Linked DNA regions of Homo sapiens: regions 2, 3, 4, 5 and 6 are each linked to region 1. The links are contacts of gene promoters, found by promoter capture Hi-C in human tissues and cell types (Jung and others, 2019). All regions are on one chromosome and are shown on one strand. Each heading gives the region's core, a stretch centred on a gene start or on the middle of the fragment in contact. The rest is flanking DNA. Distances are from core to core; before and after follow the strand shown. Region 1 holds the start of UCP2 (uncoupling protein 2). Region 2 has its middle 11 kb from the start of MIR548AL. Region 3 overlaps PGM2L1 (phosphoglucomutase 2 like 1). Region 4 overlaps PGM2L1 (phosphoglucomutase 2 like 1). Region 5 overlaps P4HA3 (prolyl 4-hydroxylase subunit alpha 3). Region 6 overlaps RAB6A (RAB6A, member RAS oncogene family).

Region 1 (4,722 bases), core at 2,072-4,571:
GGCGACAGAGCAAGACTCTGTTTCAAAAAACAGACAAACAAACAAAAAAAAACCTAGCACTTTGGGAGGCAGAGGTGGGAGGACTGCTTGAACCCAGGAGTTCAAGACCAGCCAGGGCAACATAATGAGACCCTGTCTAAAAAATATAAATAAAAATAAATTAGCTGGACATGGTGGTGCAGGCCTATAGTCCCAGCTACTTGGGACGATTGCTTGAGCCCAGGAGGTTGAGGCTGCAGTGAGCTGTGATTGTGCCACTGTGCTCCAGTCTGGGTGAGAGAGTGAGACCTTGTCTCAAAAAAAAAAAAAACAAACCCCAAAAAACCTAAGGACTTCTTAGATAAGGTAACATTTAGCTAGGTGATTTTGGGGGCTGAGAGTAAACTCTGGGGCATTAGACTCCTCCTGGCCTACCATGTGATGCAGAGAAAACTGCTCTCCTTTTTGTTTGGGCCAGTTTCCTTTCCTCCAACTTAGGGGGATCCGCACTTACACCACAAGACAGGCAGGGATGAGGGGTCCAGGTCAGAGCTGTGAAGAGTGATAAAGTAAACCAAAAGCCCCATTTTGTTCTGAGTTGGAACCACACCCTCCTCCACTGCCCCAGGAGGAAGTGAGCCCAGCACCCTAGTGGGGGAGGGTGACCTGCTTCTTCCCCTGAGCTTATTTCTTTGACTTCATTGGAGCAGCTGCTTTGAGCCCCGCCTGACTGCCTTTGTTGCTGGGGCTCAGGTGAAAGGGCTGGCTGGTGAAGGGAGTCAGCTGTGAACACAGAGACCCATGGAAACAAACAGCTCACCCAGCTTCCTCTTGGGCTTCTCACTCCAGGTGGCTGGGGCAAGCAGGGAAATGAAGATACTCACCATAGCAACTACACTGGGACCTATAGAACAGGGCCTGACCTTATTCCTGTTTCCCTCCAGCTTGCCCACGAGGCTCAGTGAAGACTGGTGCTCAAATGACAGATTGGGTTGATGAAGGTGCCCTCGGACTCCCCAGATTCCCTGCTCTGACACCCCCTTCCCCCAGGAGGTGCTCCACAACTTTCCCCACCCCAACGCCCAGGGCACTGTATTAGCTCAATCCTCAGAGCAGCCCTGCAAGGTGGCTGCCCTTATTTCCATGTGAGATGAGTAAGAGCCACACTTACAGGCACCAAAGCTGGTAGTATTTGCTTTGCACTGCTGCCCAGCTCCTCAGTTCGTTCTTGCTGTTTTATCAGCCCCAGGCACAGACAGGGCCTTTCACAAGGAAAGTTCTCACAGGCTGATTAAACAGTACTGAGAAGGCTCAGGCAAATGGTATCCCTTCTCTGGGCATCAGAGATATGATGACATGAGTCTGTCACATTCCTGACCTTGAGCTGGGTTGCAGGATGTTGTGAAGGCCAGAGAAGAATAAGACCCAGCTGCTGCCCAAAGACAAGTGCACAGAGGTTCAGCTGCCATATTCTGAATGTTGCCTTGGGCTTGCCAAGTCAGGTCCTTCAGAGGGTGGGTAAGATGGCCCTACTAACAGCAATTAAAATGCAGGACTAGAAATAGTTAATCCTATTTTACAGTCCCCAGCAAATAACCAGTTTCAGAGCCGGGCTGATTACCAATCTCGGTTTCAGGGATAGTCAAAAGCTAGCATCAATATGAAGTTAGAACAATAGGTTCCTGTCCTAGCTCTTCTGCTGGCTCCCGGGATGACTTGGGGCCAATCACTGTTACACGTGGGCCTCAGTTTTCTCCTTTATAAAATGGGGACCAAGATCCTTGGCTTGTCCGAGTCAGCTGAAGGGCCAGAATGAGAGCGGGGAGGTGTGAGAGTGCTCTGTGAACTGGAAAGAGCCACTTCACTGTCGGGGGTGGGGATGGTAATTATTTTTGTTAATGCCCTGCTGACTCCTGCCCCTAGACCACAGGGTTAGGAGGCAGCAAGAGACCTCTTCCTTGGACTGGACTCTTACCCGGCTTTGTAAGGTCTCACGGTGAGGCCTCCAAGATCAAGCTTCTCTAAAGGTGTCCCGTTCTTCAAAGCTGCCAGTGGCTATCATGGCCCGATCCCCTTGGTTTTCCATAGAAAATGGGTGGGAGACGAAACACCTAATGGTCATACTATGTGTCCTGTGGGTGAGCAAAGGCAGAGAGTTTAGAAAGGGCCACCTGCCCCAAGACACACAAGCCCACCCAATCCATGCCTTGGAGGGGGATGGGGAACAGGGCCCAGGGACTGGTTAAGTGCACACACTGGAAAGGGGAAAAGCAGGGCGGAAAATGAACCTAGGTACACTCCCCACCCCCACCCCACCTGCTTAATATCACAAATTGGTTCTCATCCAGACTTCTGCTTTTGTAACACTCAGTACTCTATATAAGCACCCCCTAGCACAGTCATCAGACTTTGGTGAGTGGGAGAGTTGTGAGGGGGTCACGATGGGACAGAGACTCTCCGGGAATTGGCTAGGTCCCAGGTCGGGCTGTGAGGAGGTTGGAAGGGCTGGGAGCCGGCCCTGCAGAGGCCAGATTGAGCAGCTCAAAGCCCACTAGAAAAAGCCCCCAAGCCCTGGGAAAGGCGGTGCAGGAACACTGCCTGGAGCTGCCTGGTAAGGGAGAGGTCATTGTGGTCATCGCTGATGGTCCCCATCCAAGGCAGGGCTCGGCATCGTGGTGGAAAGGAGGGAGTGAAAAGGTGGAGGCTCAAACGACAGCCAACTGAACGGGAGAGGGAAAGAACAAAAGGGACTAAGAAAAAGAGAGAAGAGAAATAAAGAACCAAGGACAGAAAGGATTAGCACAGGCCGGACCCGGAGGCTCATGCCTAAAATTCTAGGACTTTGTGAGGCCGAGGCGGGCGGATTGCTTGAGCTCAGCAGTTCGAGGCCAGCCTGGCCAACATGGCGAAACCCCATCTCTACAAAACACAAAAATTAGCCAGGCGTGGTGGCGGGCGCCTGTAATCCCAGCTACTCGGCAGGCGGATCGCTTGAACCTGGGAGGTGGAGGCTGCAGTGAGCCGAGATCGCGCCACTGCACTCCAGCCTGGGAGACAGAGCGAAAGCCTGTCTCAAACAAACAAACAAAAACAAAAAATAAAACCGAGAGAAAGAAAAGAGTACAAACTTGGGTGGGAGAGAAGGTAAATGGAAGAGCGGGCAGCGCACGCAGAACAAGCGTGGGGGGCGCAAAGGGCGCAGGGCTGGGGCCAGGCTCACCGAGCCGCAGGGAGAACACGGCAGTGCGTGCGGCTGTGTCTGTCGGCTGGCGGAGGGCGCGTCGGACGAGCCGGGCGAGCGTGGACAGTCAATCCCAAGGCGCGCGCAGCTGGGCTTCGCAGTGGGGCTCCGCGCAGGCGGCGGCGCGGCTTAAGCCTCGGGGGCGGGGCCCGGGGTGGGGCCTGCGGGGCGGGGCCGGGCCTGCCAGCTCCTACTTGGGTGCGGAGACCCTGGAGCAGCCGCCTTTCCGCGGGGACCGCCCCGCCTAGGGTTCTCTCCATGACTTTCTCCACTCCCGTTTCCGTGCGTCCCATCACCGCGTTTACTCCTTCGTTCCCCGAGATGGTCACTCCCTTGCCACTCCCCGCCTCTGCCTCACACTCTCTCGGGCCGCCAACCTCTGTGAGGATGGCAAGACTGACCGCCAGAAACAAGTCTTGTCCAGTCACACACCTCTTGCCTTCCCAGCCAGGACGGTTTCTAACAGCGTCCAGCGGGGCCGTGTCTTAAGTGCACTTCCTCTTTTATGGGCCCAGCCCCCCTACGCTGGGCAAACTACCCACCCTCCTGCGAGCGAGCGCGCGGCTGGCTCCTGCAGGGCGGGACTGGGGCCTCGCGACCGGCCTCGCTGTCGATTGGTTACAGCCGCCGCGTTGTCGGGGGAAGGAACCAATCAGAACTGCAGCAACAGGTGGCCCGGCAACCGACAACAGCCGTTGGGCTCGGCTGGGGTTCGCGCCTTCTCCCCCGGTGGAGCGGCCTGGCGTTTAGGGACCAGGACACTAAAGGCCCCGGCGGGGCGGGAGCACCCAGCGTGACCTCACGCTCCTACACACAGACAAGCAAACGGGCCGGCCCCCGCACGTGACAAGGCAGAGCCGGGCCCAGGCCAGCTGCCTGTCCAGCCCTGGGATGAGAAAAGGCGTCAGGAGATGGACCGGGCCTGGTTCGCCTTTAATTGGCTGACCCGTCCTGTGGGGGTAACTGACGCGTGAACAGCCAACAATTGGGCCCTCTGGCCGGGACAAACACGTGCGTTTGGGGAGTAGAAGAAGGCTGGTATTAACCTCCATTTTACAATGAGGAAACGGAGTCCCAAAGACGTTCAGTCATCTTCCTGATATTCACACACTTACACCCTGGTCAGGCCGGCGCCATATGTGTTTTCACCAGCAGAAGGGACTGCCAGGGAACAGCTGAGGGGACCAGAGCTGGGATGGGCCTGGATAATTATAGCGGAAAGAAAAACACGCCGAGCGCATGGTCCTGGCAGAAGCAGCGTGGAAACAGAAGTCAAGGCAGATTATTTCTGCCATGAGGAGATCTTGCCATGTAGGAAAAAAGAAAGAAAGAGAGGAAAGAAAGACAGAGAGAGAGAGAGGAAAGACAGAAAGACAAGAAAGAAAGAGAAAGAAAGAAAAGAAAAAAAAAAAGAAAAGATAAAGTTTTTTTGTGGCACTGTGAGTCTCCCTCCGCCAGGTTCTCTAGCTTTTGCGCTGAGCTCTGTCTGGCTGTGCATTCCG
Region 2 (4,722 bases), core at 1,240-3,739, 430 kb after region 1:
TTGCCCGTGACAGTTTTAAAATTAAGGTTCAAAATTTTCAAGATTGGCAAATACTCTCAGGGCAAAAGCCACGTCTTGCACAGTTACATCTTCGGGATAACATTTTCCTTTCATTTTTGGCCTGGTAATTTTTTACTGACTTGTCATTTCTTCTTTGTGATTTAAAAGAAGGTTAAAATAATAACTGAGCTTTATTATTTAGTTTTAACAAGAAGGTTAATACAAATAACCTCATCTGCCATTTTGGGAACACTATACTATTTTGATAATCATCTTATGGCTGTAAAATATTATGTCAAGTTGATCTACCATGGTGTTTTTTAAAAAATTATTCTCATGTATAGGTTTCTTAGCTTGCCTCCATTTTTCCTATGTAAATAGCAATAACATTGAACGCCTTTGTGAATAAAGCCATTTTTGCCTTCTGCAGTATTCCATACCTAAATCCTTTAGAGTACAATTGCTGAGCAATGTACTATAAATGTTTAGAGGGTTTGATTCCTAAGGGTTGAACTAATGTCTTATGAATCAAATTGTGTGATCTTCATCTTTTTAGTTCCGTCATAGTAATATTAATATTTTTAAAGACCAAGTCCAATAAACCAGTCTTGGTCACCTGATTAAGCAGTTCTCAAGCAGAAAATGAACCTTTATGAGTTTTCTTTTAAAATATTAACTCTTTTATGTAAAGTATTTAAGTTCAATTTAATGTGGCAAATACTTGTATGTCTGTCATGTTACATCTTTCTAGGTGTTTCAGATTCAGGATAAACAAGATAGACAAGCCTTGTTCCTGCCCTTAAGAAGCCCAGGACGAGGAATACAGACAAATAACACATTATTGAAATGCCCTGATAAGTGCTTTTCATAGATAATACTATGGAATTACAGAGGAGGGGCACTTAATCCAGACTGGGAGGGGCATAAAAGGTATCCTTGAAGAAATCATAGCTAAACTTGGTAAGTCTTGAACTTGGGTGGCCTGCGTTCTCCAACTTTGTCCTTATTTTTCAAGATTCTTTGGGTTTTCTAGGTCCTTTGCGTTTCCATATAAATTTTAGAATAAACTTGTTAATTTCTACCAAAAAAAAGCCTGCTAGGATTATGATTGAGATTATGTTAACTCCCTAGATCAATTTAGAATTAATTGACATCTTTAGAATACTGAGTTTTCCAATCCATGAAAATGATCTATGTCTCTAATTTAAGAAGACTTTTAATTTCTCTCAGCAATGTTAATGTAGGTTTCAGTGCAGAGGTCTTATAAGTCTTTGACGTATTCCTAAACATTTTGTTTTTTTATGCACATGTAAATAGTTTTATTTTTATAGTTTAACTTGGAACTGAAGAACAAATAGGAGTTAGGAAAAAGGAATATGGCATGCTAGGCAAAGGAAACAAAACAAGAAGGATATTTGTGTGCTGAGAGCTCAATATTACAAATGTCTGCTACAAACCTCTTTTATCATGCTGACATGGAAGAAATATTGCTGAGGTGAGTAACAAAAACAACAAAGAAGGCATATTCTTCTTTTTGAATTCCAGGGTCTACAACTATACACCTAATAATACTATCTAGTAGTATCTATTAGATTGATATGATTATCTAATAATAGAGCAATAATAACTAATAAGTTGCTAAGTTAGTTTAAGCCCTTTCAGGGCAGAATAAAGTTGGAGAATTTACACCATCTGACTTCAAGACTTATAAATATGCAGCAATTCAGTGTGCAGTATTAGTATTAGGATAGACAAATAGATCAATGGAACGGACTATTTCTGCGGGCCCAGAAGTAGACCCACATTCATTTGATTTTCAACAAAAGCATCAAAGCAAGCCAATGAGAAATGGAAAATTCCTTCAACAGGTGATATTGAAAAAACAGAATATACATCTGGAAAAATATCAACCTCAACCTGTATCTCACACCAAATATAAAAATTAATTTTAGCCTGGGCTGAGTGGCTCAGGTAATCCCAGAACTTTGGGAGGCCAAGGCAGGAGGATCACTTGAGACCAGGAGTTCAAGACCATCCTGGGCAACATAGCAAGACACTCTCTACAAAAAAATCTAAAAATATATATATATATTAGCTGGGCCTGGTGGTGCACCTGTAGTCCTAGCTACTCAGGAGGCTGAGGCAGGAGGATTGCTTGAGCCCAGGAGTTTCAGGCTGCAGTGAGCTATGATTGATTGTGCCACTGTACTCCAGCCTGGGTGACAGAGTAAGATCTCATTTCTAAAAAAAATAAATAAAATAAAATAAAAAAATAAAGCTATACAGCTTCTAGAAGAAAACCAAGTAGAATATATTTGCAACTTGGGAATAGGTAAAGATTTCTTAGGATAGAGAAAGCATTAATCACAAAAATATAAAATTGATAAATTAGTTGTCATCAAAATTAACAACTTCTGCTTATCAAAAGACAGTCTTAAGAATCTAATTTGGTAAGCTATAGGTTAGGAGAAATTGTTTTCAAAATATATATCTGATAAAGAAGTAGTATCCAGAATATATATAGAATTCCTATAACACAATAATAAAAAGACAAAAACGAACCCAAAAAATCTACCGTTTTTTAAACTGCAAATGACAACACAAACTTAATCTAGCTTAAGTAGAAAATTGAGTTTTGGTACAACAATGTGAATGTACTTAATGCCACTGAACTATACACTTATTTTCAAATATCTATTTTTATATATAATTCAAAATTTAAAAAATTAAATGTCTTGGCATATGTACTGAGAAAGTCAGGAGTGGAGCCAGCTTCAGGGACCCCTGGATCCTGACATAAGGACTCTGTCTTCACCTTTCAGCTCCACTTCTGTTTCCTCCCAACCTCCCTTACTTATTTTTCAAAATAAGACAGTTGTGACTACATAGAGCTCTAGGCAAACATCACCCCAGCTAGCAACCCCAAAAAGAAAGACAAGATTTATCTCGCTGCTTCAGTAGATATAAATTTCAAGGAATAATTGGCCCAGATCGGGTTATGAGCCCACTACCCCTAAGGCCATGCCAGGAGGGTAATATGTTGAACCACCCCATAAAAATCACATAAAATGAATAGTTAAGGAACCTTTCCCCAAAGGAAGAGCAGGGTTCTGTCACTGGGAGATGAAGAAAAGGGATGCTAAACAACCAAACAAACAGATCCCTTTAATAATGACTTGTTATCTATTCCTTGACTTTAAACAAATTATTTACCATCTGCCAGTCATTTTTCTCAATTCTTTCTGAAAAAAAAGATCATTTATTTATTCAGCAACTTTATATTGTGCACCTACTGTTGTGCTATGCACTGTTCTAGGGATGAGAGAGAAGAATGGTAAATAGACAAAGTTCTGGTACTCTTGTAGCATGAATGATTTTCCCACTTATAAAAGCAGTATTTGCCAGCTCCACATCTTGGCATTTCCAAACATCACCAGTAAAGAAACTTTTTTTCTCTGTTGAAAGAAAAAGTTAAGTCTACTACATTTGGAAGGTCAAAAATAACCTTTCACTTTTAGGGAAAAAGTATTCTGTACCTAGAGCCACTTAATATATGTGTGTCATTCTAAACTTTGATTTCTCCAGTTTTTGTTCATTTTCTTTTCTCTCTGTTTTTTTTTTTTTGTTTTTTTTTTTTGAAACGGAGTCTTGCTCTGTCCAGCCCAGGCTGGAGTGCAGTGGCGGGATCACGGCTCACTGCAACGTCCGCCTCCTGGATTCAAGGGATTCTCCTGCCTCAGCCTCTCTAGTAGCTGGGATTACAGGCCCCCGCCACCACACCTGGCTAATTTTTGTATTTTTAGTAGAGACGGGGTTTCACCATCTTGGCCAGGAGCTCTGGAACTCCTGACCTCGTGATCCACCCGCCTTGGCCTCCCAAAGTGCTGGAATTACATTCGTGAGCCACTGCCCCCAGCCCATTTTCTTTTCTGCATACCTGATAGCTCATTTTGAAATTGTTGCTTTCTATTTTATTAAATGTCTGTGTTTGTGGATGCTAGATGACTATACTATGCTGTTGTAGGTTATCTTGCTTTCCTATAATTCTTGTGTGTTTGTGTGTGTGTTCTATTTATTCAATAAAAGAACTGGTAGCCTGTAGTCAATTTTCTATCCCTAATAGTTTTTCATTTTCTGATGAAATCCAAGATCGCTTTTTTATTATAATGTGTAGAAGACATGGCATATTGTAGACAAAGGGAAATTGAATCTGCTGGAACCAGCTCTTGGTGAGAAACTATGATTTGATGATGATGTTATATCCTCAGCTAAACGCTGGAAATTTTCTAGGATTAGAAGAAAATGACTCATTCTGGACTTGCAACAGGGAAAAAACTACATTATTTGGTAAGGTGAGGACTAAAAGATATGATTTTCTGTGGATTTTATTGTTTAAAAATACTATGCAAATCATAACTTGGAACAAGTTATAATATACTCATATATACATAGATATGGGTATAGATATAGATAGTATTTATACACATATGAGTTTTATCTTTACTTTTTCTGCCCACCCTTTAGTTAGGAATATTAGTGAGGAGTGAAATGACCAAAAGTATGTATCAATCTTGATAGCATTCAGCTGCATGTGACTAAAACAAAACTAAGCGGCTTAACAAAGAGATGTTCATTTTCTTTTCCAAATAACAAGAAGTCCCAGGGAAGGCAGACCAAGCGTAGGTAGTCAAAGACGTCATCAAGCACCCAGCCTCCTTTTAT
Region 3 (4,722 bases), core at 914-3,413, 410 kb after region 1:
ACTCTTTTTTTACATATATGGCATCAAATTGTACATGTTGTTCTATAACTTGCTTATTTCATGTATATCTTGCACAGAGGGCCAAATACTGCATGATTTCACTTATATGAGGTATCTAAAATAGTCAAATTCATAGAATTAAAGAGTGGAATGATGGTTGCCAGATGCTGGAAGGGAAGGAGGAATGGAGAGTTGCTAAGCAAGAGGCATAAAGTTGCAGTTAAGCCAGATGAATTCATTATAGAGATATGCTGTGCAGCACTGTACCTACAGTTAACCATACTATATTGAATACTGGAAAATCTGTTAAGAGGGTAAATCTCATGCTAAGTGTTCTTAATATGATAAAATAAAATTAAAAAAAATATAAACCTATACACCTATGTATCTATATCTCTCTTTATATCTATATATCTTGGAGGTCCTTTTAATACATATAGAGCCATGCTATTCTTTTCACTCCAGAGTGTTCCAGTTTATGTCACCATTTATTTATTCATGGACACTTAGGCTTTTCCCTCATTTTTACCTATATAAATAATGAAATATTTCAGAGAGAAAATGACGTGAAAAAATTCTGAAGCAGAAACACAACATAAAACCATTACTTACGTTAAAGAGGTTTTCTAACAAGGTAGACATTAAAATGTCTTTGAATCAGAGAGATATGGTATTTTTCATTTACCATATTATAGTCTTCATACTCTTTAAGGCATTAAATATGACCATTTCCATTGTTTTGTTTGGTAAGATACACTCCTCATTAAATGACTTGGTGTAAAAGATCTCATGAGGATTGGTGACACTATCTCACTGCCTTCCTGTCTATTCTTCACCAGCATAGAACATTTTCTCCATTAACTCCCGATACTAGAGGGCAGCAGCCTCAGTACTAATTAGTAGTAATGCAGACCACAGTTGACTAATGAAAACAATACTCCTTCAGTAAAATCTGCACTAAATTACTAATCAACCTTTTATTTTGAGGGAAAATATTTCTAAAAAGCCAAACAGACATAAATTAGGTAAAAACAGGTTTCTCCATGAGACAAGCCAATTGTGCTGTCTCTCCAAAAGGAAGGATGAAAGAATTCTGATTTAGATTATCCAGGGATTATCATTGAAATCTAAGCTAATGTAACCAGGTGTGATGGCTTGTGCCTGTAGTCCCAGCCACTCCGGAAACTGAGGTGGGAGGATCACTTGAGCCCAGGAGGCTGCAGTGAGCTATGATCACACTGCACTCTAGCCTAGGTGACAGGGTGAGACCCTGTTTCTCTACAAAACAAAACAAAACAAAAACCCTGAGCTAATGAAATATAATAAGATGTATATTCTTTTGTTAATTCAATGTATCTCACAAGTAAAACCTGGAAGAATCAAATGATGATAAATTCCTTTTTATTAGATTATCCATATTCTTTGATTTTTTTAAATAAGAGGAGAGGAAGAGACAGGAAAAATACTTTTTTAAAAATTTATTTTTTTTGAGATGGAGTCTCGCTCTGTCACCCAGGCTGGAGTGCAGTGGCGCGATCTTGGCTCACTGCAGCCTCCGCCTCCCGGGTTCCAGTGATTCTCCTGCCTGTCTCCTGGGTAGCTGGGATTACAGGCAAGTGCCATCACGCCCAGCTAATTTTTTGTATTTTTAACAGAGATGGGGGTTTCACCATGTTGGCCAGGCTGGTCTCGAACTCCTGACCTCAGGTGATCCGCCTGCCTTGGCCTCCCAAAGTGCTAGGATTACAGACGTGAGCCACTGCGCCCGACCGGGAAAATAATTTTAGATCAAAGACATATCCGAATAGGTTTCTAACGGCCTTGTAGAAAACTTGAAGGAACTGGCCGGGTGCGGTGGCTCACGCCTGTAATCCCAGCACTTTGTGAGGCCGAGGCGGGCGGATCACGAGGTCAGGATATCGAGACCATCCTGGCTAACATGGTGAAACCCCGTCCCTACTAAAAATACAAAAAAAAAAAAAAAAAAAAAATTAGCCAGGCGTGGTGACGGGCGCCTGTAGTCCCAGCTACTCGGGAGGCTGAGGCAGGAGAATGGCGTGAACCCGGGAGGCAGAGCTTGCAGTGAGCCGAGATTGCGCCACTGCACTCCAGCCTGGGCGACAGAGCGAGACTCCGTCTCAAAAAAAAAAAAAGAAAACTTGAAGGAAGTAAACAAACAGCTTTTATGAAAGAAAAAAAAAAAAACAGGGCAAAGAAGTCCCCCAAATAACAAACAGAAGTGCTAGTCTACCTATTTTGAAAACTGTCAGGTGAGACAGGAAGAGCTTTCAAATATGAATCACTCCTTTTCAAATATATCTATGGAAAAATTACTACACTGTGTAGTTTTTCCACACCATCTTCTTTCAGTAAGCAATCTACATTTAAGGTTTCTTCATCTTTTCACAGCTTGATAGCTCATCTCTTTTTGTGGCTTGACAGCTAATTTGTTTTAATCACTGAATAATATTTGATATGCAACAGTTTGCTTATTCATTCACCTATTGAAGGACATCTTAGCTGTTTTCAGTTTCAAGTACATTTTTAATTTGAAGAAATAAAAGTATAAAGATTTTTGGGTCAAGATGAAAGACTTAAACACTTGTCTCCCCTCCCTGAGAACTTATTACAGTGATAGTAAAGGAACGAAAGGACTAAACCTACAATGTAAAAAGAACTGGAGGAAGGGATCAGTGGGTACTGAAGAGTAGATGCAATTTCCACGTACAAAAAGTAGCATGAAACAAAGTGCAATAAGCCCAAACCCAAAATAACTTGATAACATGTACATTTTGTTCTATAATCAAAATGAAATCTTGTCTTCAACATGGATGAACTATGAAGACATTATGCTAAGTGAAATAAGCTAGTCATAGAAAGACAAATATTGTATGATGCCACTTATATGAGGTACCTAGATTAGTCAAATTCATAGAAACAGAAAGCAGAATGGTGGGTGCTAGAGGCTTAGGGGACGAAGAAATGGGGAGTTATTTAATGGGTACAGAAATTCAGTTTAGCAAGATGAAAAAGTTCTGGAGATCTGTTTTTCTTTCCTTAAGATCCATCAATTAATTGTTCAAAATGATGCCCCATTTTAGTTGGCTTCATTTTTAGACCATAACTTAACTTACTCAGCTTTGTCTTTCCTTGCTTATTTGGGTCCTTCATTCTTTCCTTCCCTCCCTCCCTTCCTACTTTCTTCCTGTTTTCCTCCTCCCTCCCTCCCTTCCTTGGGTAACTGCTTTTTCTTTTCTGTTCTTTTTTTTTTTAATGTTGTTGACCAGAAACAACACGCCATCTTCACCATATTACTAACATCTTCCAGCTTTTTACTATTTATGGCATAGATGCTGAATTCTTTTTCAAGATATATTTCTGGAACCCCAGTGTGGATCAGTACACTATTTTCATCTAGGATTTCTTTACATTGGATTTCTGGGGAAGTTACTCCACATCAACTTCCTCATATTTCCTATTTCCTTTTGCTATGTTTCCTCAACTTTAACGTCTATATTTTCTATTGCATTTGGCAGGGGTGGGGTGTAACGTTTTTTTCTTAATTTCCAAGAGCTCATTATTGTTTCCTGTTCCTTTTTCATAGCATATTTCCTTATTTGATGGAATAATTGTCTTATTTAATCAAAAAACATTAAGTTCTTGTGTTCCCTGACTTAACTCAGTTTTTTTCCTGTATCCATTGCTTTACTTATTTTTCATGCAGCTTATTTCCTTTTTATAGTTTGATCGTTAGTTAGTTATTAACATCAATAGATTTTTAGCCGCTGGTACCCAACATTCTGTTTTCTGTTTCTGTGTATTTGACTACGCTAGGTACCTTATATAAGCTGGTATGGGTTTTCTCTGTTTTCATGTATACAATATGTTTTCTGCCAGTCTCCTCTTAAATAGAATGGCCAGTTGGAAGCCCTGTTTGTTAGTTGCACTTATTGTCCTGCAAACTTTGCTAGCATTAATTATATTGTTTAAACTTTTGAAATAACTAATGCTAATAGCATAACTATCAAAATTTAGGAGACATAGAGAATAGTGAGTGAATTCCCATTTTTTATAGCACAGGGATATATTTGACAGATAATATCTAAAGCTTTAAAATACATCAAGAAATAGTGCTTCTAGTATATTACTTAGTCTTTTCATGGTAACCACAAAAATAACTAAAAAGAAACTTAAAATGACTTATAAGGAGCAAACTGAGGAAAAGAAGAGGCAGTTAGGATCATTGTTTTCCATTATAATCCCTTCTGTACTATTTTTTAAAATCATAAGCATGTATTTCTTCAAAAAAAATAAATTGCAAATAAAATGATGAAAACAGGAGAAAATGTAGGAAATTTGGAAGTATAAAGAAAAAAATGAATTTGAATTCTAAAAAGAAAAATTCAAATATTCATTTATATGTACTAAATTTCTTGGACAGAAGGAGAATACTGTGTTGCCAAGGAGACCAAAGCAACTGTTCAGCTCTTAAAAAAAAAAAATCCATGGCAATTTATTCTGCATAATATTACATCCTACTCCAGCTTTATAAAAGCCAATAAAATAGTTTTTTTTTTTTTGAGACGGAGTCTGGCTCTGTCGCCCAGGCTGGAGTGCAGTGGCGCGATGTCGGCTCCCCTGCAAGCTCCGCCTCCCGGATTCACGCCATTCTCCTGCCTCAGCCTCCCGAGTAGCTGGGACTACAGGTGCCCGCCACCTCGC
Region 4 (4,722 bases), core at 915-3,414, 370 kb after region 1:
AATTTAATAAAAACAAATACATCTTTAAATATTTCAATTTAAAAGACAGGAAAGAATTATCAAAGTATCAACTTAGGTGGTTATTTTGGGATAATGGATTTACAGGAAATTTATGTTCTTTTCTTATCTTTTCATTATTTTCAATGAGCCTGTAAGACTTAAAATACATTGCTTTTCAAAGTTCAAGCTTTTAATCAAATAACAGATTCTACATACTTCTCCTGAAGTTCTGCTGCTGCCAGTCTGTCTGCATCAGGATCTGTGGCTAGCACTACCCGGGCATTTTCTTTCTCTGCCAGTCTCAAGGAAAGTTCCTGAAACAGTGACCCAAAAAGCTGGATTGTACTGAAGAACCTAAGTTCAATGTTAACGTTCCTGTATGTAGGCACAATGTTAGTGATAGGAATTTTAGAAGGCATAGAATTCAGCTACGTTTAAAACAAGAAGCCAAAAGTAGGGACACCCACCATAGACATTTCAAACAAAACACAGCCTATTATTACTCCAATACAATTAAAAGATGTAAACTACAGTCCTTTCTGCTTTTGTAAGTAATCTTTGAATTGTCAATGAGTTCTATCTATTCTGATGGTTTAATAAACTAATAATAATTTAAATATTTAAAAAAATACCAGCACAGATTCTCCTTCTTCAGGATTTGGACATTTAACGGTAGAAAAGTCTGGATCAGGATCTTTTTGTTCTGGTACTGGAATTGGAGGCTTAAAACCAAACACTTTAAAAGCCAACTGCACATAGTCATGTCCGACCCCATGAAAAGATGTGTGCACAAATTTCAAGGTGGTCTTCGAGTTTAACTCCCTGTAAAGGAAAATCAACATAAGATCATGATTACAAAACCTCTTACCTTTGATATAATTAAAAACAATCAAATTCTGATTTGAAAATGTGATTAAATGTGATTTAAGCCTTCAGCAGAGGTCTAAGATATTCAAACAAACAAATCAAGAGTACTAACTTAAAGATCAAGAGTTTTAATTCAACAGCATTCTCCCTTTGTGGCTCAACTTCCTGACCTGGACAGCTGCCTTCCATATGCTGTGCCAATACCCTGAACAAGCTAAGCTTGTATCATCTAAGTAAATATTATCTCTCACTAGACCATCACAAACACTTCCTAACTGGTCTTTCTCGCTTGCCAGTAGACCCCTCGTTTCTTCACTTCCAGTTTAGATTGCAAAGTACCTAATTACACTCACCTTCTTATATGTCAGTCTGGCTACTTTGACCCTCCAATACCCCAAATCTTGTTGAACCCAAATGTGTTCCTTTTCCAGGCTTGCACCAAAATAGTTGAATATTGCTAGAATAAATCTCACAAAAGGATTGAACAGCTTCACTCTGAATGGACACCCAATGCTGCCAGGCAATCCTACTTTGTTACCCAAAAAGCTTACTTTTTTACTCTCCAAGATGGTGACTTAATTAGTACCTTCTCTTCTCTCCTTATTCCTTTCCTCCCCCTTCATCTCATACATCACTCAGACACAGAGCCATTTGATGGGAACTTCCTAATCGTCCCACACCAAACCGACAACCCATATTTTTTCCTTCTTCCATCTGATAATAACGAGGAGGTGTTCTTTGTATCAAAGGTCAACCCCTCTACTTCTGCTCTGGTCCCCATCAATTCTCACTTGAGAACTTTAGTACATGGATAATTCTCTCTCGCCGGCATCATTTCCATTAGCATCTAGTCTCTGTTTCTTTGGTCTTTTCCACAGCAAAACTTTGTACATCCTAACCTACCATTTACTAACTATTCCCCATAAAAAATACAATTTATTATAAGATAAATAATAAAAATAAAGTTATGACAATTTTCAAACATATGCATAGGAAGACAGAATATCTAACACCATATACCCATTACCTCACTTCAATATGTTTCCATTGTCTGTCAATCTAGTCTCATTTATTCAAGATATATTACTTTACATGAAAATGCTTTAGTATTTAGAAACATAACCATATTACCATCATTACATCTAACAAAATCAACAATAATTTCTTTCCTCTAATACCGTATCTGTGTTCAAATTTTCCCCAAGTGTCTCAAAAATACTTTTAACAGTTGTTTTACTTGAAGCAGGACCTGAACGAGGTTCCATATAATTTGACTGCTATGCCTCTCAAGTCTCTTTTAATCTGTAAATGTTCCTCCCTTCCTTCCCCAACCCAAATGTCATTTATTGAAGAAACTGGCCCATTTGTCCTGTAGAATTTCCTGTATCTCCAGTATGTAGACTGCATCCTTTTGGTATTAACATGCTCTTCTATCCTATTTTTTCTGTAAATAGGCAACTGCATTTAGAGGTAACATTAGATTCAGTTTCAATTCTTTGGGCAAGAATAGGTGCTGTGTATTTTCTATTGACTCACAGGTGGAAGCACACAATTTCTACTCTACTTTTAATGCTGTCAAACTAAGATTCACCAGTGTCAGCCTAATCCTTCCATCAAAATATTTCCCATCAACATTTCACCTATGGGTCTTAGCAGCCCTTGATAAGAATTACTTAGATATATTATTTATTAGAGGTCACAACATAGTGATTTTGAAAATTCTGTTATTTCTTCTGCATTTATTGTATTTTTCTTTTAAAAATAATGATCCTTCATCAACCATTTGATTAGCCCTAAAATTCAGTTCATATAGAAAAGGCAGAACAAATTAAGAGAAAGTTTCAAACATTTATTGATTTTCAGAAGGAAAATTTAGAATTTATCAAATTTCAGCCTGTGTGATTTTCAGTCCAGCAACTCCCAAAGGTGACCAATAAACTGCTTTTTTAGTATTACTAACAGTCATGGGCTTTTTAGGTTTAATGTTTTAATTCATTGAGGTGATTATTCTTTTTGATGCCCAACTATCCAATATTTGGTCAGTGGGAGTCCCTTCAAGTTGGCTCCCAGATCTTTTTGATATGACCCCAGTATCTTTGAAAGCTAGCCTGCTTCATGGCAAGGAAAACAAAGTTATCTCAGCCTCATTTAGTACATTTTCTGCCCCACTCCTTGATAAGAATCAATTTCTCCAATGAGCCCTGGTTCCTTTTACTAGGAAATGGTATTTAGAAACCACAGTCTGGGCTTTAGGGGTAGGCATTGGCCTTTTTAGTAACAGAACTAGTATTTTGGTATTTTAGGTAAATAAAACATATTTCAAATTCAAATTTAAAATTATAATTTTAAAATTATTTTATTTGATTTTACATTCACTTCTCTTAAACTAAAATCTTAGATCCTAGTGACATTAACATAATTACCCATTTGTTTTATCATATATATGTGTATGTCTATATATTTATTTATATCTACATCTGTAAAATCATCAATATTACCACTAACAGTACAGCTATCAAATAAAATTTGAGGTTTCTTTGTAGTTCTTTATCCTTAGGACATATCCCACTAGAAATACATAGTCAATAACTGTAAAGTCACTTGAAATAATTCTTCTCTGTGTAATTATGCCTTCAGCTTGATAAATAGTTAGGTTCACTTGTTAATTTGCTTTTGCCCATATACTCTTTAAAAAACAAAAATGTAAATAAGAAAAGACAGAAAGGATAAAAAAGGAATCAAATTCTTTTTAGATTGATTAGAGCTGGTAGCATTTAGCTAGTATTACTGTCACTTATTTTAGACGGAGAAGCAAACAGTTGACAGCTTGATGGGTATACTTTTGAAATTAAAATAAAGTTGAGAAAAAGCTAAAATTATTTTGTAGGATAGGAAAAATACACTCAGCTAGCCAGGATTCTTCCTAGCAATAGTGTTAGCTATTTACAGAAGAGTTACAGAGATAATTATGGAAATATGGAAATGGTTAAGGAAAAATAAACTCTTAAGAGAAATGTACTGATCTAACATAGAGGAAATACATATATTTAAGTATAACTTGTTTAACAGCTTTTTTGAGATATAATTCACATACCATATAATTCACCCATTTAAAGTGTGCAATTCAATGGCTTTCGCTATATTCATAGAGTTGTTCAACCATGACTATGATCAATTTTAGAACATTCTCACTACTCCTGAAAGAAACTCTAGGCTGGGCATGGTGGCTCACACCTGTAATCCCAGCACCTTGGGAGGCTGAGGCAGGCGGATCACCAGAGGTCAGGAGTTCGAGACCAGCCTGGCCAACATCATGAAACCTTGTCTCTACTAAAAATACAAAAATTAGCCAGGCATGGTAGTGGTTGCTTGTAGTCCCAGCTACTTCGGAGGCTGAGGCAGGAGAATTGCTTGAACCCAGGAAGCGGAGGTTGCAGTAAGCCCAGATCGTGCCACTGCACTTCAGCCTGGGTGACAAGAGCGAGACTCTGTCTCAAAAAAAAGGAAAGAAAGAAAGAGAGAGAGAGAGAGAGAGAAAGAGAGAGAGAGAGAGAGAAAGAAACTAACTCTATAACCTATAGCTTCCAGCCCCCAACCCTTTCATTCCTTCCAGCCACAAGAAACCTCTAATCTATTTCTGTCTCTATAGATTTGCCTATTCTACATATGTCATATAAATGGAATCATACAATATGTGGTTCTTTGTGACTGGCTTCTTTCACTTAGCATGATGTTTTCAAGGTTTATCCATGTTGTGGTATGTGAGTAGTTCATTTATTTTTATTGCTGAATAATATTTCATTGTATGGATATACCACATTTTACTTATCCATTCATTAGTTAATGGTTACTTGG
Region 5 (4,722 bases), core at 933-3,432, 320 kb after region 1:
CTGTAATCCCAGCACTTTGGGAGGCTGAGGCAGGAGGATCACTTGAGGCCAGGAGTTCAAGACCATCCCGGGCAACACAGTGAGACCCTTATTAAAAAATTAGCTGGATATGGTGGGGCACACCTGTAGTCCTAGCTACTCGGGAGGCTGAGGTGGGAGGATCACTTGAGCCCCCCCAGGTGGGAGGATCACTTGATCAAGGCTGCAGTGAGCCATGATTGTGTCACTGCACTTACTTGGATGGCAGAGCAAAACCCTAAGAAAACAAAAAGAATTTCATAAACTAGAAATTTCATAATCCATAGAGGAAGGGATCGGGGAAGTGTAGATGAAACAAATTTGGCCACATGTTGATAATTATTGAAGCTTATTCTGTGAGTTGGCGATACCACTCCGAGGTATTCATCCAAGAGAAATGAGAATAAATGTCCATAGAAGGACATAAAAGGATGTTAATAGAAGCTTTATTCACAGTAGCCCAAACTAGAAGCAATCCAAGAATCTGTCAACAGGAGACTGGATCAACAGTTTGTGGTATATTCTTAGAATGGAATACTACTCAGCAATAAAAAGAAATAAACTACTAACAAATGATACAATATGGATGAATTCCACAGATACAATGTGCTGAATGAAAGAAGCTGGACTTAAAAGGGCACATACTATATGGTTCAGGATCGCTGCTACCTGGGCAAGGGTGGAGCAGAAGGGATGGGGGGTGGCGAGGAGGATGAGTGGGGTTTTAGCTGTATGTAACATGTTTTTTTTTCTAATATATATTTTTAAAAATGAAACAAACATAGCAAAATTTGAACATATATTCATTACAATAATAGATATAATTGCTTGTTATATTATTTTATGTTCTTTTCTTATATTTGAAAAGTTTTCTCTCTCAAAATAAGTGAATAAATATAGAAAGAAAGATTGCCAGTAAGACTTCCAGGAAGTGACTTACTAAATTTTCAACATACGGTTTTACTTTCAGAAAGGCCTCACTAATATGTTAGTACCATACATTAAACTACTTTACCTGGCTTAAATTTAAATCAGCCATGAACATGATGATTGAGCTCTGATTCCACTCAGGATCCCAGAAAAGAGAAAACAGTATGTAGAGAGACTCAAGCAGCCTACTCTGCCTTAATTTGGAAGACTGACTCCCAAAACTTGGAATCAGGACACATGAGACCCACTCCCAGATCTGTTGATGAATACTGTAGGAGTCAGGAAAAATACACCTTACTGCAATAAACATCTTCAAAGTTAAAATGGATTTGCTCCATTGCTTTTTATAGCAAAGGCTGGCAAAGAGTATATTACAAAATGATCTCACGTGTGATTACAACTTATAATCAAAGATCAGTTAAATACCTCAGATGGGGGGCGGGGGTGTTCCTGAAGTCTATTTCCTCAAGTAATGTTAAAGTGAATGGCCTTAGATTTTGGACACTACTTTAATTTTGTACTTCCAAATGCTTAGGAAATGTTGCATTGGATTCCAGAAAGTCTCAGGAGGCTGTTTCCGTGATCTTACCTTTCCATCACCATCTCTTATCCTTTTCCCCAACCTTGCGTCCCTGACCCCCTGCTTTCCCTTTCTACCCAGGAGTTCATGCACTGGCAGGGTGCTATAGTTAGGGTGAACAAAGGACCATTTTTCCTAGTTCATGTCTGTTGTTCTAGCATAATTAATAACACCCCTTTCAATCTCAAGAGTGTTCTAAGTATATAAACACCTTAACTACTATGGAAAGGGCCTGAGATTTGGAGTCAAAAGACTGGGTTCAAGCTTTAGTTCTGCCCTTAAAATTGCATAATCTTAGGGCAAGTTATTTACCCTCTCTGAATCTTGTTTTCTTTCTCTGAAAATGGAAATGATATCAAATTTCCAAGTTTACTGTAAGTATTAAAAAGAAGTAAAATCAATCGGTACATAGTTATTTTATCCATAAGAAACCAGAGCCAAGCAATTGGCCCTCTCTTGAATATTGTTACCTTGCCAACTTGGAAGCAGTCATCCCCTGTGAGAGAAAAGAGCCGTTTGGGGCTGTACAGGTCAGTGATGGCAGAGCCAGTGACTCTCTGAAAGACACCTCGGGCCAGGCCTTTCACATTGAGCATGTACACGTCCTGCAGCCGCATCAGGGCCCTTGCTGCTCCCTCAAGGTCCTCAAAGGCTGGAAGGTCTTGCTCCACCTTCTCATAGCCATCCTTCAGAGCTGTAAAAGTAGTAAAAACATCAACCCAGCATTCAAGAAACAGGAGTTGGGCATTTAATACATGTAAGGCATGACCACCTGTTCAAATATTTAATGACATCAAGTTGGATTTGTCTTTGTGTTCCCAGAGGCAAGCACAGTTCCTGGCACAGGGTGGATGCTTAATGCAATTCTGAATGAGGAACATTCAGAATGAGTGAATGAGGAATAAAAATTAAGGCATACAGCTTCATTATATTGTCCTATCCTGTATGTTTACAGGAGTCTCACTCTTTAGGGAGACAACTCTTCTTTTTCTTTTTCTTTTTTTCTTTTTCTTTTCTTTTCTTTTTTTCTCTTCTCTCCTCTTTTCTTTCTTTTCTTTCTTTCTTTTAATAGAGATAGGATCTTGTTCTGTTGCCTAGGCTGGAGCACACTGGCATGATCATAGCTCACTATAATCTTGAATTCCTGGGCTCAAGTGAGCCTCTCACCTCAGCCTTCTGAGTAGGCAGGACTTCAGGCACACGCCATCACATCCATCTAATTTAAATAAATTTTTTTGTAGAGACAGGGTCTTGCTATGTTGCCCAGGCTGGTCTCAAACTTCTGGCCTCAAGTGATCCTTCCAACTCAAGCTCCCAAAGTGTTGAGATTATTGGCATGAGCAACCACACCCAGACTCTTCTCACTGTTAGCTTTCCAAAAATCAACAAACTTCTTTTTTTTTTTTTTTTTTTTGAGACAGGGTCTTGCTCAGTCGCCCAGGCTAGAGAGCAGTGGCGCAATCTCAGCTCACTGCAACCTCCACCTTCTGGGTTCAAGCAATTCTTGTGCCTCAGCTTCCCAAGTCTACAGGCATGCGCCACCATGCCTGGCTAATTTTTGTTATTTTTAATAGGTTTCGCTATATTGCCCAGGCTAGTCTCGAACTCCTGAGCTCAAGCAATCTTAGCCTCCCAAAGTGCTGGGATTACAGGCATGAACCACTGTGCCCAGCCCAAAAGTCAACACTTTTTTTTTTTTTGAGACAAAGTCTCGCTCTGTCACCCCAGGCTGGAGTGCAGTGGTGCGATCTTGGCTCACTGCAACCTCTGCCTCCCGGATTCAAGCAATTCTCCTGCCTCAGCTCCCGAGTAGCTGGGATTACAGGCATGTAATCCCACGACTCCCCGGTAATTTTTGTATTTTTGATAGCGACAGGGTTTCACTATGTTGGTTAGGCTGGTCTGGAACTCCTGACCTCAAGTGATCAGCCCACCTCAGCCTCCCAAAGTGCTGCAATACAGGTGTGAGCCACCGCGCCTGGCCGTCAACAAACTTCTTACAGCACAAAGTAGAATAAATTAGGAAAGTGATCTTGCTATAGATGACACTGTAGTGACAATTTAATGAAACAGAAACTACTAGAAGACCGTTATTTTCTATACATATATAAATGGAAGGCTTGTACTTTGTCACAGGATTGTAGTGAACATCAAATGAGACAATTGATATGAAAGTGCTTTCTAAGGTATAATCATATAAACTGATTAGCAAGCGGGCCTAATTCTTTGTGCTAGCTAGAGCTAAGGATATTAAGTAATACCCACCTACTCCATTACCCTTTGAAATCACATCCCAACAGAATCTCTCTCCTTACCACCGAGTCAGGAGATAGAATCTTCTCTCTTACCCTCCAGCCCTCCTCCTCATTACCTCGGATGTTCTCACTGGCCTCCAGACTATGTACCACATTCCTCCAGTCAGACTGCAGGCGTTTGATGAGAGTAAATGCAAGCAGAGGGTTAGCCACAGGGGTTGTTGAATCCTCATGCAAAGAAAGTACCTTGTCGTAGAATCTGAAAGAAAGGAGTAGAATGATCTCACCTCCTGATACAACCACTACACCTAGGGAAGGCTGGCATGGTGTGTGTACATTAAGAGTAGCTAACACTGACATGCTGAACCTCTTGAGATTCACATAATAGTCCAACCAAAAAGCCATGCAAGCCCAAAGAATATGAAAACTATAGATACAACAAAAGTAGGTCCACTCTTTTGTTCACTGAATGAGTCAGTCTATATTAATCAATTACTGTATTTCAGGCACCATGCTAGAGATATAAAGGCAAGACAGGGTCCAGCTCTCAAAGGGATCACAAAGTCTTTTTCTCCTGTCATCACTGTATATGCAATACTTAGTATCTGGTAGAAACTCAAAAACACTATTGAATTAATTATAACCACTGTGATATGTGCTATATAGTGGTCCCCAACCTTTTTGGCACCAGGGACTAGTTTCATGGAAAACAATTTTTTCCACGGACCGGGGGGTTGGGGGATGGTTTCGGGATGAAACTGTTCCACCTCAGATCATCAGGTACCAGTTAGATTCCTATAAGGAGCACACAACCTAGATCCCTCACATGTGCAGTTCACAATAAGGTTCACGCTCCTATGAGAATCTAATGCCGTGGCTGATCTGACAGGAGGTGGAGCTCAAAGAGTAATGCTCCCTTGCCCACCACTCACCTCCTGC
Region 6 (4,722 bases), core at 1,415-3,914, 260 kb before region 1:
CTGGCTAATTTTGCATTTTTAGTAGAGATGGAGTTTCATCACGTTGGTCAGGCTGGTCTCAAACTCCTGACCTCAGGTGATCCGCCTGCCTTGGCCACCCAAAATATGGGGATTTCCGGCGTGAGCCACTGTGCCCGGCCTAAACCTAGCACTTTAGAAGGCTGAGGCAGGAGGATCACTTGAACCCAGGAGTTCAAGACCCTGGTTTTCCTATAAGTTATGAACCACTACATGTAATAATGTTTAATATTGCCTAATATATGTCATAAACCAATTTACAAAGGCAATTTCAATCAGAAAGCATTTTCTTGTCAGTCACCAATGCTTCATGGAAAATTTACAATCACTTAAAAGGCCACAGGCATTATTCAATCTTTAGAAAAAAGAAAAAGACTACTAGTTGTTTCACCTCCTATTTAAAATTTTTTTCTTGGAGAGAAATGAAAGTGTAATTTGTTAGCAACAAAGTAAATAAATCAGTCACAGAACCAAAATATGATTCAAATAAAAAAGATTAATAGAAAACTGTACATTATGTTTTCTCTGTCTTCCTCTACAGAGAGAGAATGGCTGGAAGGGGAAAGCAGAGAAAAGCTGGCTAGCAGAAGCTTGTAATAGCCTCAATAGAAAGCTTGGAGGATTTGGAAAACCTGGCAAGAGACTTAAATGCAGATCATTTTATTTTAGAGAAATCTGAGATCAAGGAAACATTCCTCCAACTATAATTATGGTATGGTTTACGAATAACAGGATACTAAGAAACCCTTGAAGAGGATTCATAGTTGGACCCAAAAGAAAATTTCTGGGGCAAAAAACCTGGCACAGTTACATATAAAGCATATTGGTATAAACACCAAAGCAAATATTTCTGACCTGGCTGGTATGTAATTTACTATGATAAAACTTATTTTTACATGCCAGTAAGGAAAACAAGCACAAGACAAGAACATGCATGCAGCTAAGCTAAAGGTTGAAAGAAGATTAGAAATGCATAATTCCCTCCACTCACTTGTGATATCATAAACAACAACTGCCACAGTGGAGTCACGAATGTAGCTAGGAATCAAGCTCCTGAACCGCTCTTGACCTGCTGTGTCCCATAATTGCAATCGTACCTAACAACAAAATCAGTCAAACAAGCAAGAAAAATAAGAAAGGTCAACCCGTTGCAATATACCTACTTGTGATATCGTAAACTACTACAGCTGCAGCAGAATCACGGATGTAACTGGGAATGAGGCTACGGAAACGTTCCTGACCCGCAGTATCCCACAGCTGAAGCCTGATCTGTGAGATGGGAAAAAATAAATAAAAAAAAAAAAACCAAACTAATACTAAAAAGAAAAAAGAAACAATGTTTTTTGTAAAAGGGAGAGGGTGGGAAGGAAGTAGAAAGAAGACTCATGCAAGAGGTTGCAGGGAGTGAGGAATGAAAATAACACAAAACTCCTTTTTCAAAAGGGAGAAATATTAAAAATTTGCATACTCCAAACATAAATGACTGGAAAATGCCACTGGGAAAAATTTCACAGAATCAGAAATATGGCTTCCCTTTTTCCCTACCTAAAACCTGTTTGAATCCCTATGCCTTTCAAGTGGCAAAAAGTAGACTGTTGATGGTTAAATAGAGAAAAAAACAAAACAAAACAAAAAAACCTAAGGTAAATGTCAATGAGCAGCCTAAGCTATCAGAGTAAAGGAATTAATGCTTCTTTGAAAGCTTCTCTCAAGCTAAAATGTGTCTCTTTCCTATTGGGTCTAGAATACTTTCAAACCTGTTTTTTAACTACCGTGCTTGTATTTCTCCCATACATTTTCCCCAGAACATGCGAGTGTGTGCGCGCACGCATGCACGCGTGTGTGTGTATAATGTAACAAAAAGGAGGAAGATCTTTTTGCAGCCCTACATAAAAATGTCTTTACGTACTATCCATATCTATATTACAGGAAGAAAAGCCTGAAAACAAGTATCAAGTTCTTGCATCATGATAAAGTCGTTTCCAAGCTTTCAAATTTTTTTTTTTTTTTTTAGACAGACTCTCATTCTTGTCGCTCAGGCTGAAGTGCAGTGGTGTGATCTCGGCTCACTGCAACCTCTGCCTCCCGGGTTCAAACGATTCTCCTGCCTCAGCCTCCCGAGTAGCTGGGATTACAGGCGCCCGCCACCACGCCCAGCTAATTTTTGTATTTTTAGAAAAGATGGGGTTTCGCCATGTTGGCCAGGCTGGTCTTCAACTCCTGACCTCAGGTGATCTGTCCATCCTGGCCTCCCAAAGTGCTGGGATTACAGGCGTGAGCCACCACACCTGGCCGCTTTCAAATTTTAAGAAATGACATGCTATATATCAAAACATAAAAGAGAATATTCAGGAAAAAAAAAACACCTAAGAAATAACACTGGAAATTAAATAATGTTTTTGGGTGCAGGTCTCAAAGTACTGCATTTAAGATATTCACTGTTTAGGTGACAAGTATCTCTTCAAGGGGTAGTGGGCTAGAATACAGATTTTACACTGTATTTAAAGAAAACATTCCAAAGGATGAAAGACAAAAATCCAACAAATAAATACACATTACTTTTTTTTTTTTTTTTTGCAACGGAGTTTCGCTCTTGTTGCCCAGGCTAGAGTGCAATGGCGCAATCTCAGCTCACTGCAACCTCTGCATCCTGGATTCAAGCGATTCTCCTGCCTCAGCCTCCCAAGTAGCTGGGATTATAGGCGCCCGCCACCACGCCTGGCTAATTTTTTGTATTTTTAATAGAGATGGGGTTTCATCATGTTGGCCAAGCTGGTCTCAAACTCCTGACCTCAGATGATCCACCTGCCTCAGCCTCCCAAAGTGCTGGGATTACAGGTGTGAGCCACCGCACCCTGCCCACATAACTTCTTTTTTGTCAGTCACTTTGATACGCATCCTATCCTGACAAAAAAAATCTTGAAGTTCACAAATTGAAATCTTTTTGAATGCCTCAAGGGTGGCATTTAGAAGGTCTTTAGCAGGTTTAATTTCTTCATAAAAATTCTCCTTTAATTCTCTGTAAAGCTCTTTGTTTTCATTTTTCCAAATCAAGATGACTGCCAAGTACTACTCACTCGGTAATAAGAGTTTTTCTCAACAACTGTAAACTATCTTTGGTAACTTTGCTAAGTACTTCTTATGGTGACAATCATTGATAACTTTGATTGCAGTTTTCTAACCTGGAATGTTGCAGAAAATTGCACACTGAAAATATTACTCACTGTTCGATCCTCCAAGTACATAGTTTTTGATAAAAAGTCAATGCCAATTGTTGCCTGTAAAACAAAACAAAGAAGTTAACAAATAATAAGTTTAATGGTGGCCAGCAGTTTAGGATTCAAATGGGATTCATGATTGTGGAAGAAATAATGAATAAACAAATCAATACAACATAGTCAATTAAGGACAATTAAGGACAAACAAAATTTCCAGTGATAATGATTTTCATGTATTCAGCACTTGCTTCATATCAGAGATTGTTTTAAGCCTTTTACATGATCATCTCTAATCTTTATACATTCCTGCCAGGTAGCTTATTCTCATCCCTACTTTTCTCATTTTACAAATAACAAGACAATGGCAACTTTGGTTTAAATATTTGTATTTGAACTTTAGTTTGAGTATCTGATTGTTCTCCACTCAGAATGGTAAGTATCTGCCCCAAGAGCAGTTTTATAAAATACTGTTGATATATTGTCAACTGTCCTAATGCCATAGACAGCCAGAGACTCACAAACATCATAACTTTCCATAAGAGACATGATTTTTCCAATATAAAATAAAAGTCATTAGGTAAGGAAAACAAGTTTTCCTCTGTACCACACAATGATAGCTTCCTTCTGTGGTGAAAACAAATGTAAAGTTCTATTGCCTGGCTGCTGTTTTCCCTATCAAGAGAAAATGGTGAAATAATAAGAGAATAGAAAGAAGGCAGACTACAAAAAAGAAAGGAAAAAAAGTATACAAGTTAAAAAACAGTCCAGTATTAATTAGGGGAGATAAATAAAAAGAATGGAAGAAAGACAGACTCCAGAAAGAGGATGTTGATATGGACTCTATTTTAGAAGTTTTACCACCTCATTAATGTTTGTGTGCACATATACTATGTATATATGTGCGTGTACATACATACTTTTTCCCTAAATATCTTTGTGCCATATTCCTTAAAACAGAAACTGAGTCTGTGCATTTTAAAATATGAGTCACTAAGAATTTTAAGTTCCTAAAAAACAATCAAAAACTAGATCAGAAAAGTGGTCCATCAGTTGGGGATTTTATTTCTGTTAGCAGAAAAATAGAATTTTGTGTGTGTCATAGTTGAGTTCTCACGAGATCTGATGGTTTTATAAAAGGATTTCCCCTCTCTTTGCTCTGTGCTTCTCCTTGTTGCTGCCATGTGAAGAAGGACATGTTTGCTTCCCCTTCTGCCATGATTGTAAGTTTCCTGAGGCCTCCCCAGCCATGTGGAACTTGAGTCTATTAAACCTCTTTCCTTTATAAATTACCCAGTCTTGGGTTATCTCTTTATTAGCAGCATGAGAACAAACTAATACATGTGTCTCCTTTAATTTCTCCCAGCAGTGTTTTGTATAGTCTTATGCTGTTTGTTAAATTTGTTCCTAAGTATTTTATTCTTTTCTGATGCTTCCGTAAATAAAATTCAAATATATATGTGTGTGTGTATATATATATATATATATA

Evidence for each region. The method cuts DNA at HindIII sites, captures the fragments that hold promoters and counts their contacts. A contact is called where the count stands out against the background at its distance.
Region 2: a fragment that was not itself captured here is called in contact with the fragment with the promoter of UCP2 in region 1 in 1 of the 25 tissues and cell types used here (lymphoblastoid cells).
Region 3: a fragment that was not itself captured here is called in contact with the fragment with the promoter of UCP2 in region 1 in 1 of the 25 tissues and cell types used here (adrenal gland).
Region 4: a contact is called between a fragment that was not itself captured here and the fragment with the promoter of UCP2 in region 1, in 2 of the 25 tissues and cell types used here (IMR-90 fibroblasts and aorta).
Region 5: a fragment that was not itself captured here is called in contact with the fragment with the promoter of UCP2 in region 1 in 2 of the 25 tissues and cell types used here (dorsolateral prefrontal cortex and heart left ventricle).
Region 6: a contact is called between a fragment that was not itself captured here and the fragment with the promoter of UCP2 in region 1, in 1 of the 25 tissues and cell types used here (dorsolateral prefrontal cortex).

What each region holds. Positions count from the first base shown.
Region 1 is chr11:73,979,522-73,984,243 of GRCh38, forward strand. It overlaps UCP2 (uncoupling protein 2), which reads right to left and starts at 3,322. Exons shown (of 8, transcript NM_003355.3): 1 at 3,200-3,322; 2 at 1,955-2,111. RefSeq lists enhancers at 848-907, 4,159-4,659 and silencers at 3,233-3,442, 3,743-3,902. The HindIII fragment of the contact is 13,644 bases long and covers 1-4,722 here.
Region 2 is chr11:74,408,236-74,412,957 of GRCh38, forward strand. No RefSeq gene overlaps it. Among named protein-coding and RNA genes, the nearest start is that of MIR548AL, 11 kb to the left of the region's middle. RefSeq lists an enhancer at 4,304-4,722. The HindIII fragment of the contact is 6,636 bases long and covers 1-4,722 here.
Region 3 is chr11:74,387,979-74,392,700 of GRCh38, forward strand. All of the region lies in intron 1 of PGM2L1 (phosphoglucomutase 2 like 1), which reads right to left. Among named protein-coding and RNA genes, the nearest start is that of PGM2L1, 8.1 kb to the right of the region's middle. The HindIII fragment of the contact is 9,021 bases long and covers 1-4,722 here.
Region 4 is chr11:74,346,516-74,351,237 of GRCh38, forward strand. PGM2L1 (phosphoglucomutase 2 like 1) reads right to left here. Exons shown (of 14, transcript NM_173582.6): 7 at 633-822; 8 at 217-314. All of the region lies in intron 2 of LOC112268078 (a long non-coding RNA gene), which reads left to right. Among named protein-coding and RNA genes, the nearest start is that of P4HA3, 37 kb to the left of the region's middle. The HindIII fragment of the contact is 6,314 bases long and covers 1-4,722 here.
Region 5 is chr11:74,300,371-74,305,092 of GRCh38, forward strand. P4HA3 (prolyl 4-hydroxylase subunit alpha 3) reads right to left here. Exons shown (of 13, transcript NM_182904.5): 2 at 3,900-4,042; 3 at 1,999-2,222. Among named protein-coding and RNA genes, the nearest start is that of P4HA3-AS1, 8.6 kb to the right of the region's middle. The HindIII fragment of the contact is 6,663 bases long and covers 1-4,722 here.
Region 6 is chr11:73,717,604-73,722,325 of GRCh38, forward strand. It overlaps RAB6A (RAB6A, member RAS oncogene family), which reads right to left. Exons shown (of 8, transcript NM_198896.2): 3 at 3,243-3,296; 4 at 1,010-1,115. Among named protein-coding and RNA genes, the nearest start is that of RAB6A, 41 kb to the right of the region's middle. The HindIII fragment of the contact is 4,090 bases long and covers 620-4,709 here.